2 separate regions of the Homo sapiens genome follow, and region 2 is linked to region 1. Evidence: promoter capture Hi-C in 16 types of primary human blood cells and fetal thymus (Javierre and others, 2016). All regions are on one chromosome and are shown on one strand. Each heading gives the region's core, a stretch centred on a gene start or on the middle of the fragment in contact. The rest is flanking DNA. Distances are from core to core; before and after follow the strand shown.

What was found. Contacts are between HindIII fragments. The CHiCAGO score rates a contact against its expected background, and 5 or more counts as called.
Region 2: a contact is called between a fragment that was not itself captured here and the fragment with the promoter of LPCAT2 in region 1, in 5 of 17 cell types (monocytes, M2 macrophages, M1 macrophages and 2 more). The highest score is 15.5, in monocytes.

The regions. Positions count from the first base shown.
Region 1 is chr16:55,505,558-55,510,969 of GRCh38, reverse strand. LPCAT2 (lysophosphatidylcholine acyltransferase 2) reads right to left here and starts at 1,898. Exons shown (of 14, transcript NM_017839.5): 1 at 1,618-1,898. The coding sequence starts at 1,788. It overlaps MMP2 (matrix metallopeptidase 2), which reads right to left. Exons shown (of 13, transcript NM_004530.6): 13 at 4,279-5,412. The HindIII fragment of the contact is 4,685 bases long and covers 1,050-5,412 here.
Region 2 is chr16:55,840,082-55,845,478 of GRCh38, reverse strand. No RefSeq gene overlaps it. Among named protein-coding and RNA genes, the nearest start is that of CES1, 9.7 kb to the right of the region's middle. The HindIII fragment of the contact is 6,371 bases long and covers 1-5,397 here.

The DNA of each region.
Region 1 (5,412 bases), core at 649-3,148:
TCTTTAAACAGTAACAAACCAGGTGATGGAAAAACTTAATAATTTATTATAGGTGCAATATAAATATTTGTCAACATTCCATGCTGTTTCTTTCCAAAATATGAAGTCAAATAGATGGGCATATTTTCATTTAAGTATGATTTAATTAAATCAGACTAAATTTAATCTTGAACAATGGTCTATGTATTTACAAATGTTTCAGAATGTGAAGACACAAAAAGAATATCTATTAATTTAAAGACATGAGGATCACATTTTTAAACGTTTAATTTCCTCACAAAGCAGTATTACTACATTCTTTATCTTCTTCCTCTCTCACACCCCTCTTCAACCAGACACCCATCTACCATTACTCAAGCCACCACCTGTGTTGTTTAGCTCTGCACTTAACCTTCCCCCACTGTAGAGGACAATGGTCTTAGTGCATACAAGCTGATTGCAAATATTATACTGCTTCAAATCCAAAGTAATGTGTGAGATGGACATGAAAACTTCAAAATTGTTCCCCCACCCCCCCAACCCCCGCAGAACACACGGACAAATGTGGTTAGCAGGGTCTATCTTGTTCTCTGATCACTAACTTCAACAAAGAGGAAGTCCAAAGAGTGCAACTGCCAATGGTAAAAGGAACCCTTTACAAGAAAAAGGAAAGGAAAGGAAACTTCCTTTGTGCATAACAGTATAGCCATTTTTAACAATGGAAAACAGCCTGGGCTACTACTTCTCATGCTTCAACTTAGGAAACGTTTTTAGGTGAAGACTGATTCTGGACCAAAACTTCTTGAACATCCTAAGCTGACTCAGTTGTCCCTTTTCTTTGATTCTGACTTCCCACCCTCCATCATGCTCCTGCTCAGCTAAATCTTTCCAGCCTTACCTGTTGTTCTAACCACAGACCTAGGCTCTCTGCCTTCTGCCTCACTCTTATCCATCCCATACTGACTCCTCTCCTTCCTAAGGCAAAAAAAAAAAAAAAAAGACTTCTTCAAATCTACTCTCCCGTAGTAGATCTGCCTCCCACTACACTCTCATAAACTCAAGTTGAAGCTTCTGTCACAGATTCACAGATTCCTTCAACCTTCTGGGGCATGGAATGTAGCCTGCGCCACCAGCCAGCTCAGTCTCTTCCTGTTTTGGATTCTCCTCTCAGGCCCGCATCTTCCCAGCATCTTCTCTCCTCCCGTGCCCGCTCAGACCATCCTCTAAATGTCCTCAATTCTCAGACACACATCTCCGCCCCTTTCAGGCTCACGGCCCCTCAGAAGTCCTCTCCTCTCAGATCCACTGCTCTTTCTTCCTCTGATGCCTTTGCTTCCCAGACCCACAACGCCCCTCAGACCCACGCGCCCCTCGACCGCCCTCCCCCGTCAGACCTACACCAGTCACCTGGACCCGCCCCAGACCCTGGCTCCCCTCGGGCCACCTCCCTCCTCAGACCCATGCCCCCTTCAGGCCACCTCCCTCCTCAGACTCTCGCCCGCCTCGGACCACCTCACTCCCTCAGACCCACGCCCCCCTCGGCCGCCCTCCTCTCTCAGACCCACACCCCTTACCTGGACCCCCCTCTGACCTAGGCCCCCCTCAGACCACCTCTCCCCTCAGACCCACGCCCCTCACCTGGACCCGCCTCGCGGAGCCGATCTGCGTCTGCTGCACGAAGGGGTTCGGCACCGGCGGCGGGAAGAAGGACGCCTGACGGGGCACCATGGGCGGCCGCAGCCCCACGTTCCCGACGCCGGCACCTGGCACTGTGGCCGCCACTTCCGCCGCCTGGGCGCACCGGCTCATAGTTGAGCCGGGCGTAGAACCCGGCCGAAGCGATCTACGCGGGCGCTGCAGCCAAAACTGAGCCGAAGACCTACTAGAGTCCCAGCCTAGGGCGACGCTGGGGAGCCTCTGCGCAGGCGCTGAAGTTACTTAGACGCCTGCTGCTGCCGCCCTGCCCCTTCGGCTGTGACACGCCCCAGGCTCTGGCCACACCCCCTCAGGCATCTGGCTCCACCCCCTTGGTAATATAGTCCATCCCCTCGGAGGGGAATGTTTTCCTTCCGAGCCAAGACCCTGAAGGGTACCCCAGGATCCCTAACATTCCACAGCGAGACACTAGGCAGAGTTCCCTGCTTTAGGGTCGGACGGACCTGGATTTTCAATCCCTTTTACTGGGCCTGTGACGCTGGCCAAATCACTATCTCTATGAACCTCGGTTGCCTTCCGTAAAATGCAGATAAATGTATTCTCAGATAATCCTAACCTGGATCCAGTAATGCCATTGAGCAACCACTTCCCCTGGGCTGTTCCATTAAGTGAGCTAATATTAATACACCCATGATGGCACTAGGAGTGGAATTTGTTTCACTCAAAACATAATGGACTGACAGGGGAGAGATGGTTCTCCAGAGGAAAACTGAGCTACTATTACCAGAAAAGGCAAAAATTACAGTTGCCCTCCACGCTAGATGAGGAACCTGACCCAGAAAAGGGAAATGTATTGGGCTGTGGCTCCCTTTCACACTGAGGAAGTTCAAGCCTGTTTGGACCTATGTGGGTGCTCGTGGGGGTGGGAGGGCAGGGGTTTGTCCCATTATCTGAGGACAGTTGATCAACCCTGAGTGGCTGAGAGTTAAAGGAAGGAGATGATAATCAACTCATCCCAACTGATCAACTCTTCTCACAGCAGGTAGGAAGGCCAGGATGAAAATCTGAGTCTGAGCCCTGGGGTTCTCCAAAGTTACCCTCTGAATGTCAGAATCTTCCAGCCCTACCACATAGATGTGTGGCCTTGAGTCAGTCACTTAACCTGAGTTTGCTTCCTTGTCTAGGAATGGGAGATTCATTCTAACTCCATAGAATTGTAGCAAGGATTAAATAAAATAATGCATGTGTAGTGTTCATAGAGAAACACTGAAGAAATGGCATGTTTTAAGCATTATTATGTTGTGGAGCCACTGACTTTTCTCTCAGTGTAACAGGGAACATTAATAACAGTGCATTACAGCCATGATAGAAGATTCCCCAGTCTAGGGGGTCTTCAAGTTGGGACTGGCAGACCCTTGAGACTCTTTAGCCAGATACCTGCACAGAAAGATGTCTTTCCAACTGTCAACAACCTAAGCCAGGCCAGGTGCAGTGGCTCACGCCTGTAATCCTAGCACTTTGGGGGCTGAGGAGGGTGGATCCCTTGAGCCCAGGAGTTCGAGACCAGCCTGGGCAACAAAGAGAGACTCCACCATCTCTAAAAAAAATTAAAAATTAGCTGGCTGTGCTGTTGCATGCCTGCAGTCCCAGCTACTCAGGAGGCTGAAGTGGGAGGATTGCTTGAGCCCAGAAGATCAAGTCTGCAGTGAGCTATGATCATGCCATTGCACTCCAGCCTGGGTGACAGAGAAAGACACTGTCTCAAAAAAGAAAAAAAAAGAAGAAGAAGAAACAAAAAGAATCTGAGTCAAGGGGACAGGCCATGGGAGGATAAAAGATAGAAAAGATGGGGCCGAGAGTGGTGGCTCACACCAATAATCCTAGCACTTTGGGAGGCCGAGATGGGTGGATTGCCTGATCTCAGGAGTTCGAGACCAGCCTGGGCAACACGGTGATACCTGTCTCTACCAAAATACAAAACAAATTAGCTGGGTATGGTGGCGTGCACCTGTAATCCCAGCTACTTGGGAGGCTGAGGCAGGAGAATCACTTAAACCTGGGAGGCAGAGGTTACAGTGAGCCGAGATTGCGCCATTGCACTCCAGCCTGGGTGACAGAGTGAGACTCCATCTCAAAAACAGAAAAAAGAGATAGAAACAATGACATCAGGCTCACTGAGGAGGTCACCTGTAGAGTTCACTCCTTACGCACCTTCCTCACCAGCCCCATCATAAGAGGCCAGAAGCAATATATATACTATCAATCAGACTATCGGAGCCAGAAAGGGCCTCAGAAAAACCCCAGGCCTTCAATTTCTGTTCAGCAGTAGCTCCAGAATTTCTATGTAGGAGATTAGGAGTGGGTAGACTGGTAGGAAGGAGTAAGGAGCTTATCCATTAATACCAGCTGTGTTTAGAAGCAAGCACAGTATTTCTCCCTTAGCTGTGTTTACCCAGCGTGGTTTTGGGGGTGGTGGAGGGTAGCAGGAGCGGTTTTGAAGGTGGTGGGGGTGTTTTTGAGGGTGGCGGAGGGTGGTGAGATTCTGGTTTGAGAGCTAAAGCTCCTCTGCTAGGCTATCCTTTGGCCTTGTAGGTCCCTAATAGCTATGGGACCCTGGAAAAATCACTTCTCTTGAGCCATCAGTCTCTTCATCAATAAGATTCAACTAATAATGGCCTTTTTTATTTATGTGGTTGGAAAGGTTAAAATAGGTGACACGTGAAAAGTGCCTTGCACATAGAAAGCACTCTATTAATTGAGGGGGATATTATTGTTACTGTTCATTGTTAGTAGTAGCATTAAAACTGATATGATTGCTAATGAAGAAACAGACTTAAAGAGGAAGCAAACCTCGAACAGATGCCACAATAAAGCAACAAAATTGCTGATTCTTCAGGGCTCTTTCTACAGGACAGAGGGACTAGAGCTTACTCTCCCTGAGGTTCTCTTGCTGTTTACTTTGGAAGCTCTGACCTTTCCAGCAGACACCATCACCTGTGCCCTGCAGGGAGCAGAGATTCGGACTTTTTAAGTTTCCGCTTCTGGCTGGGTCTGTGGCCCTTGTCTAGGCTCTGCTAAAACAGATGGCAAACACGGCCACTCAGTAGGTGTCTTTATTCATACTTGTTGACATTTCCCATGGGGAATGGTTGAAGGGAGGGGCAGGGAGGGCTGAGCGGGAAGCCACGGCTTGGTTTTCCTCCATCCAGTGGAGAAGAGACTCGGTAGGGACATGCTAAGTAGAGTGAACAGGGGAACCATCACTATGTGGGCTGAGATGCACTGTGCAGTGACTTCAGACAACCTGAGTCCTTCTGTCAGGAAATGCAATTTCTAAGTGGAAAAAAAAAACAAGACCCAAAGAAAAAAACAAAGTGCATACAAAGCAAACTGCTAATGTAAGAAAGGTTCTAAGGCAGCCAGCAGTGAAAAGCCAGGGGTCTGGAGTGGCCACCTGGCCATGCCCTGTCCCACTGCCCTGTGCCAGGCTGTCGGGCCACCAGTGCCCTCTTGAGACAGTCTCCATTGGCTCCAAGGGTTCTGTGAGCCACAGAAGGTTGTGAAAGGAGAAGAGCCTGAAGTGTGGCAGCACCAGGGCAGCCCAAAGCAGGGCTGCGTTGAAAATATCAAAGTATCTCTTTAGGGGTGGCTCTGAGGGTTGGTGGGATTGGAGGGGGAAGGGGCGCCTGGGAGGAGTACAGTCAGCATCTATTCTTGGGCACCGGGAGGAGCCACTCTCTGGAATCTTAAATTACCAGGTAGGAGTGAGAATGCTGA
Region 2 (5,397 bases), core at 1,583-4,082, 330 kb before region 1:
TAATAATAAAAACATAAAAAATAAATCGACACTGAGCGTCTGATATATACCAGGCGTATCCCCACTAGGGATATAGCAGTGAACAAAACATGGCTGCTACCAAAGAGTGAGCAAACAGACATTAAGCAAACATTCACGCCAGTGGATATCTCATACTGTAACTTTGATAGGTGTTACTCAGGAGAATAAGGTGTTTTCAAGAAAGTGTAACGGAGGGAACCTAAGTGAGATTAAAGTCTTAGGAGGCTCTCTCTGGAGAAATAGCATTTACATTAAGAAAGGACAAATCAAAGTTAGTCACAGGGTAGGGAGAATGTTAAATACCATCATTCAAAGGATGCACTCTTACTTTGTATAGCCACATAATCCATATTATATCCATATAATTCACCAGGGTAATTAGTTTTTCTTCGTGATTGCTTCAAGATTACATAAGATGCATACAATAGGAGGGTTTCTGAGATGCCAGTAACTCATCTGGGTGAGAGATCTCCAACTCAGTGCCCGAATCAGACCCCCTGAAGTGTTTTGTTTGGCCCACACAACGTTAAACATGTTTTGGAATTTGTTGCCAGCAAATTTTAAATTAGGAAAATTTCACATTAAATGCCATATTTCCAGCTTCTTCAGGAAACAACAATAACAAGAAAACCCAGAAGATACTGTTACCGAGCTGCATTCCCACATGATAACCAGCACTTCTGGCGGTCCATACAACCTTTTATGCAAATTACAAGGTGCCCCTTCCTCAAAACCTTCTACAGACATCTTCCATGAAACTGCCATGGATAAATATCTGCATTTATGATGCAAATGACACCTTCTCTAAAGTGTTACCCTTCTGCAGTGCACTACCTGTGCAACTGTCCTCAGCAAAGATAGAGTAATCTGCAGGAACTGAGAGGTGGCTGCCCCCTTTGCAGAGGCCTAAGTTCTCAACGTGCCACAGTCCACACCATACCCCTTTGTGCTGTGCCTGGTCTATTTTACTCACTGATATTACCCAACCTCTGAAGGTGTTTAAGTTTGGACCCTTGACCTCTCATTTCATAGTGAACCTCAGAGAGGTGAAACGATTCACCCAAGATCACTCAGCAAGTATGCAGTGTGAGCAAGTTAGCAGTAAGTCAAAACCAGGCCTTAAGGCTCTTGTCACTTCAGAGCAGGACTCTTACTGCCATGCAGCTACCTCTCTCATCAGATGGTCCAAAGCATTCGGTTGTCTCTGGATTAGGTGGTTGTGGGAGGGGTGGATCAGAGATGCTCTGGGCCACTTTATGGCTCTAGGCCGTGAAAGCAAGCTGGAAACTGAATTGCCTCTGCAGCTGCAGAAGACTAATTTCTATATTGATATTTGGAAAAACTAACAGCTAGAAAACACCACTCAACTCATTTTTAAAAATACGATCATATTAAATGACATTACACGCATCATTTATATATTGCTCGCAGTGCCAGCATCCTCAAATGTGTTTCTAATTTTGGTAGATATCTTGCTAGGGGGAGCACATTTCTAAGTTATCCAGATATAGGGCCCTCTTTCCTTCTCTTTCTGTCCACATGCAATCAGATGCTTTGTGGAGTTAAAGTTGACATTTATTTAAATGCCACTTTGTGTCTGTTTTTTTCCCCTTTAATTTAGAGTTTTCTATCTGGAATGTAAGTAAAATAATCACTTGGAGGGTTTTTCTAAAATACCAATGGCCAGGCCACTAGCCAGTCAATCGGAAGCAAAATCTCCTTGGATGGGACCTAGAAGTATTTTCAGTTTTCTGGCATTTTAATGAACACCCCGATTAAGAACCACTGGGTCTTAAGAGTGTGGCATATGTATTTTTCAAGTTCCTAGAGGCTCTCCAAAACAACAAAAAAATCTGCTTTATTTTCTGCCTGGTGTTGACGTGTCACAGTTTCTTTAGCCACTAGTCTTATCCTGGATATTTATGGTCATAATTTGATGAGCAACATTGGGAATGACTTCTTTTTTTTTGTTTTGTTTTGAGACAGAGTCTCACTCTTTCACCCAGGCTGGAGTGTAGTGGCGCGATCTCTGCCCACTGCAACCTCCACCCCAGTATTTTTACTTTTAAATATTATTTATGGCATCTAGATTTGCATAAGATGGACTGGGTCAACGGCCATGCCCTTTATAAGTCAATATTTTTGAGTTCTACAAATTCACTTTCCTAAAGCGCCAAATCACATCCTACTCACCAGCAAGACAGGTACACATCATTTTCACAATCACTTCTAATTTTCCACCATTGTAAAAAAAATAAAATATTTAACCACTTTCTTATTGTAAAATAAACAATTTACTTTTCCAGGACCCACTGCCTCCCCCTCCCCACTCTCCCCTTTTTTTTAAACAATCTTGAACCCTATCCATTAAATTAAATCAAAGCAAAACTTTAGGGACAAACTACGTCGGTCTTCACCTGTGAATTTCCTGATGTCCAGTAGAGGGCAGCATTATCACAAAGGAAAAACGCTTCCCTCTATTCTGAGGCTCCTGAGATGCTGGTGGTGTGACATCGCAGAACTTGGACTGACAATAAGACCATGCCAAATAGTTAAATTATATACAAGCCAATACAATATAGTGTTATCCATTCCATCTGTAACATTTGGAAAGAGGAAAAGGCAGAATCCACTCCCTGAAAAGTCTGACTGAAAAGACTAAACTCACTAGCAGAACAGAGGTTGGAGCCAGCAGTTTTTCCCTTTTCCACCTCCTGGACTTTCCCATTAAGTCTCCAGGAGCCTACCTCAGAGGGACATAAGGGATTTCCTCTCCTTGGACCAACTCAGTCCAGATTCCCCCAGGGCAGAGCTGCAGGGGAGGGTGGGAAGCGGGCTCAGGCCCTGCACCTGGGTAGCTGCCCCACCTGGTGCTGCCCCAGGTAGCGCATCTACAAGATGAGCCTCCCTTCCCCCAGCAGGGACAGATCCCACTCAGTCCTGCCCCGTATGCTCTGCTAAAAGTTCGTATTGAGAGTGTGCCTCATTATTCCCAAGGACGGGAAGGGCTGGGGAGAAAAAAACCTACCTTGCCGCTTGATTGTCTCAAAATACAAGGAAATTCATTGCAAAGAGCTCGCTGTGCTCCATGAATGGGGTGGAGCTCAAGTCTGAAATTAAAGGATGGGTAGGAAGGGGGATGGCCAGCCACAGCATGGCGGAAGTGTGACCCTGAGCAGTGGTGGCAAGGGGGCCAGCCCACGGGCAGCAGGGCTGGTGTTGGCAAGGTTGCTGGAGCACACTGTGGGTGCCTGGAGGACAGCTTTTCTACCTTGACCTTTAGGAAACAGACTTCTCTCTTTATCGGAAGATAATGCCATAAAATATCTATCTATCTATCTGTCTGTCTGTCTGTCTGTCTGTCTGTCTGTCTGTCTATCTACCTATCTACCTACCTACCTATTATCTATCATCTATCAATTATCTATGATCTATCTATTATCTATCTAATCTATTTATTTCATTTATTACATTTATTTATGTAATTGTGTTTCAAGCTCTATTCACCTCCTGAACTTTTCATATGAGAGAACAGAACTCTGGCTGATACCTTCGGTATTTTTAGAAGGATTGGTACACTTTGATTGTTATTTATCACTATATAAGTCCTCCATTAGTTTCACTGCATGCAACAATTGAGTTATAGAAGCACATTTCTGAAAATAAGTTATTCAATGGGAAAAATGGACTGTTGATGGCCAATTAGTAATATGAAGGCAAGGACAAACTTGTCCACCATCATGAGAGCTTGTTTGGTGGCCAGGCATTGACTTCATCAAGAGTCATCATTACTGCAGCCATTACATGAGCTTTGGGAAACTTCTTCCTTTTGACACTCAGATCTCTGGACAGAAATCATCTTATGTTGACATCTGGCAAGGCCCTTCCGATATTCTGTTGTAATTAGGTGGTTGGAGTTCCTGGGGTCAGCCCAGTTCTAGGAGTGGCAGAGGCAAAGAGCCTCCAGGAAACTTTGGCCTTGGGGTGGAGCTCAAAGGGGAGAGGTGCACTCCCCATGGGCATAAATGGGGGTTACCTACACCCCAACTTCTACAGGCATCCAATACCCCTAAACCCAGAGAGTCTTTTCTGTCTCTATTCTGATTGCATAGGTGCATGGTGGTGTCTTTCTTTCCAGGAGTTAACGTCTCCTTTTTCTGTTCTAAAACTAGTTATCGTCATTCTGTTGGCCTCTCAGTGTCCAAAATGCTGTCATTTCTTCTTTCACAGTTTGTCAGTGTGGGTTTGTAGCTTTAAAAACTTTATTTCACTGTTTTTTTTTAGGATAATTGGAGGGGGGAAATAAAAAATTTTGGATCCCTCTTCTTTCACAGGAAGTGGTAAACCGTTTTTCCTTTACACAAACATTTAAAAACAATTTTTTCTACCTTTCTGACAGCTACATTGCATCCCATAGTATAATACTCAATAAATTATTTAACTGTCTACTATTGTTAGCCATTCGAATGATTTCCTATTTTGTACCATTGTCAACTTCACTGAGGTGACCACCTGATACATATATCTTTGGGCTCATTCAGAATTATTCCTAGAGAATAGTGCTTTAAAATAAAGGTTTTATCATTATTTAGGTATGGCAGGCCCACCAATCAGATGTCAGCCATTGAAAAAGCAATTTGGGCTGGGCATGCTGGCCCACATCTATAATCCCAGCACTTTGGGAGGCCAAGGTGGATGGATTACCTGAGGTCAGGAGTTCGAGACCAGCCTGACCAACATGGTGAAACCCTGTCTCTACTAAAAATACCAAAAAAAAAAAAAAATAGCTGGTGGTGGGTGCCTATAATCCCAGCTACTCGGGAGCCTGAGGAAGGAGAATCACTTGAACCTGGGAGACAGAGGTTGCAGTGAGCCAAGATTGTGCCATTGCACTCCAGGCTGGGCAACAGAGCGAGACTCTGTCTCAAAAAAAAAAAAAAAAAAAAAAAAAGAGAAGAAAGAAAGAAAGAAAAGAAAGAAAGAAAGGATAAGTAGCTTGTTACTCACAGATCCCAAGACAAGACGAGGGGGCACTCCATGCCATGGGAGCAGGAGGCTGCACAGACAACGCTGGAGTCCATCAGAAGGTGGTGGTGATGGGGATGTGGCAAAAGGTGTTCCTGTGGTTTCCCCGGGAAGGAAGAGGTGAGGCAGGGTGAGCAGGTTTAGGAGTGGTTAGTTTGAACAATTTCAGGGGGCTCTGCAGCATTGGGGCTGTTCCATCTGGTACCTAGCTCTGGGGTGATTAGGGTGCGAGGCTATTAGTTCACAGTGGGAGAGCCCATGAAGGAGGTGGTTGGGGATGTGGGCTCTGGATCGGTGAGTTTATGTATGAAAGGCACACTAAGAGACAAGTGGCTTATATCTCTAGCAATT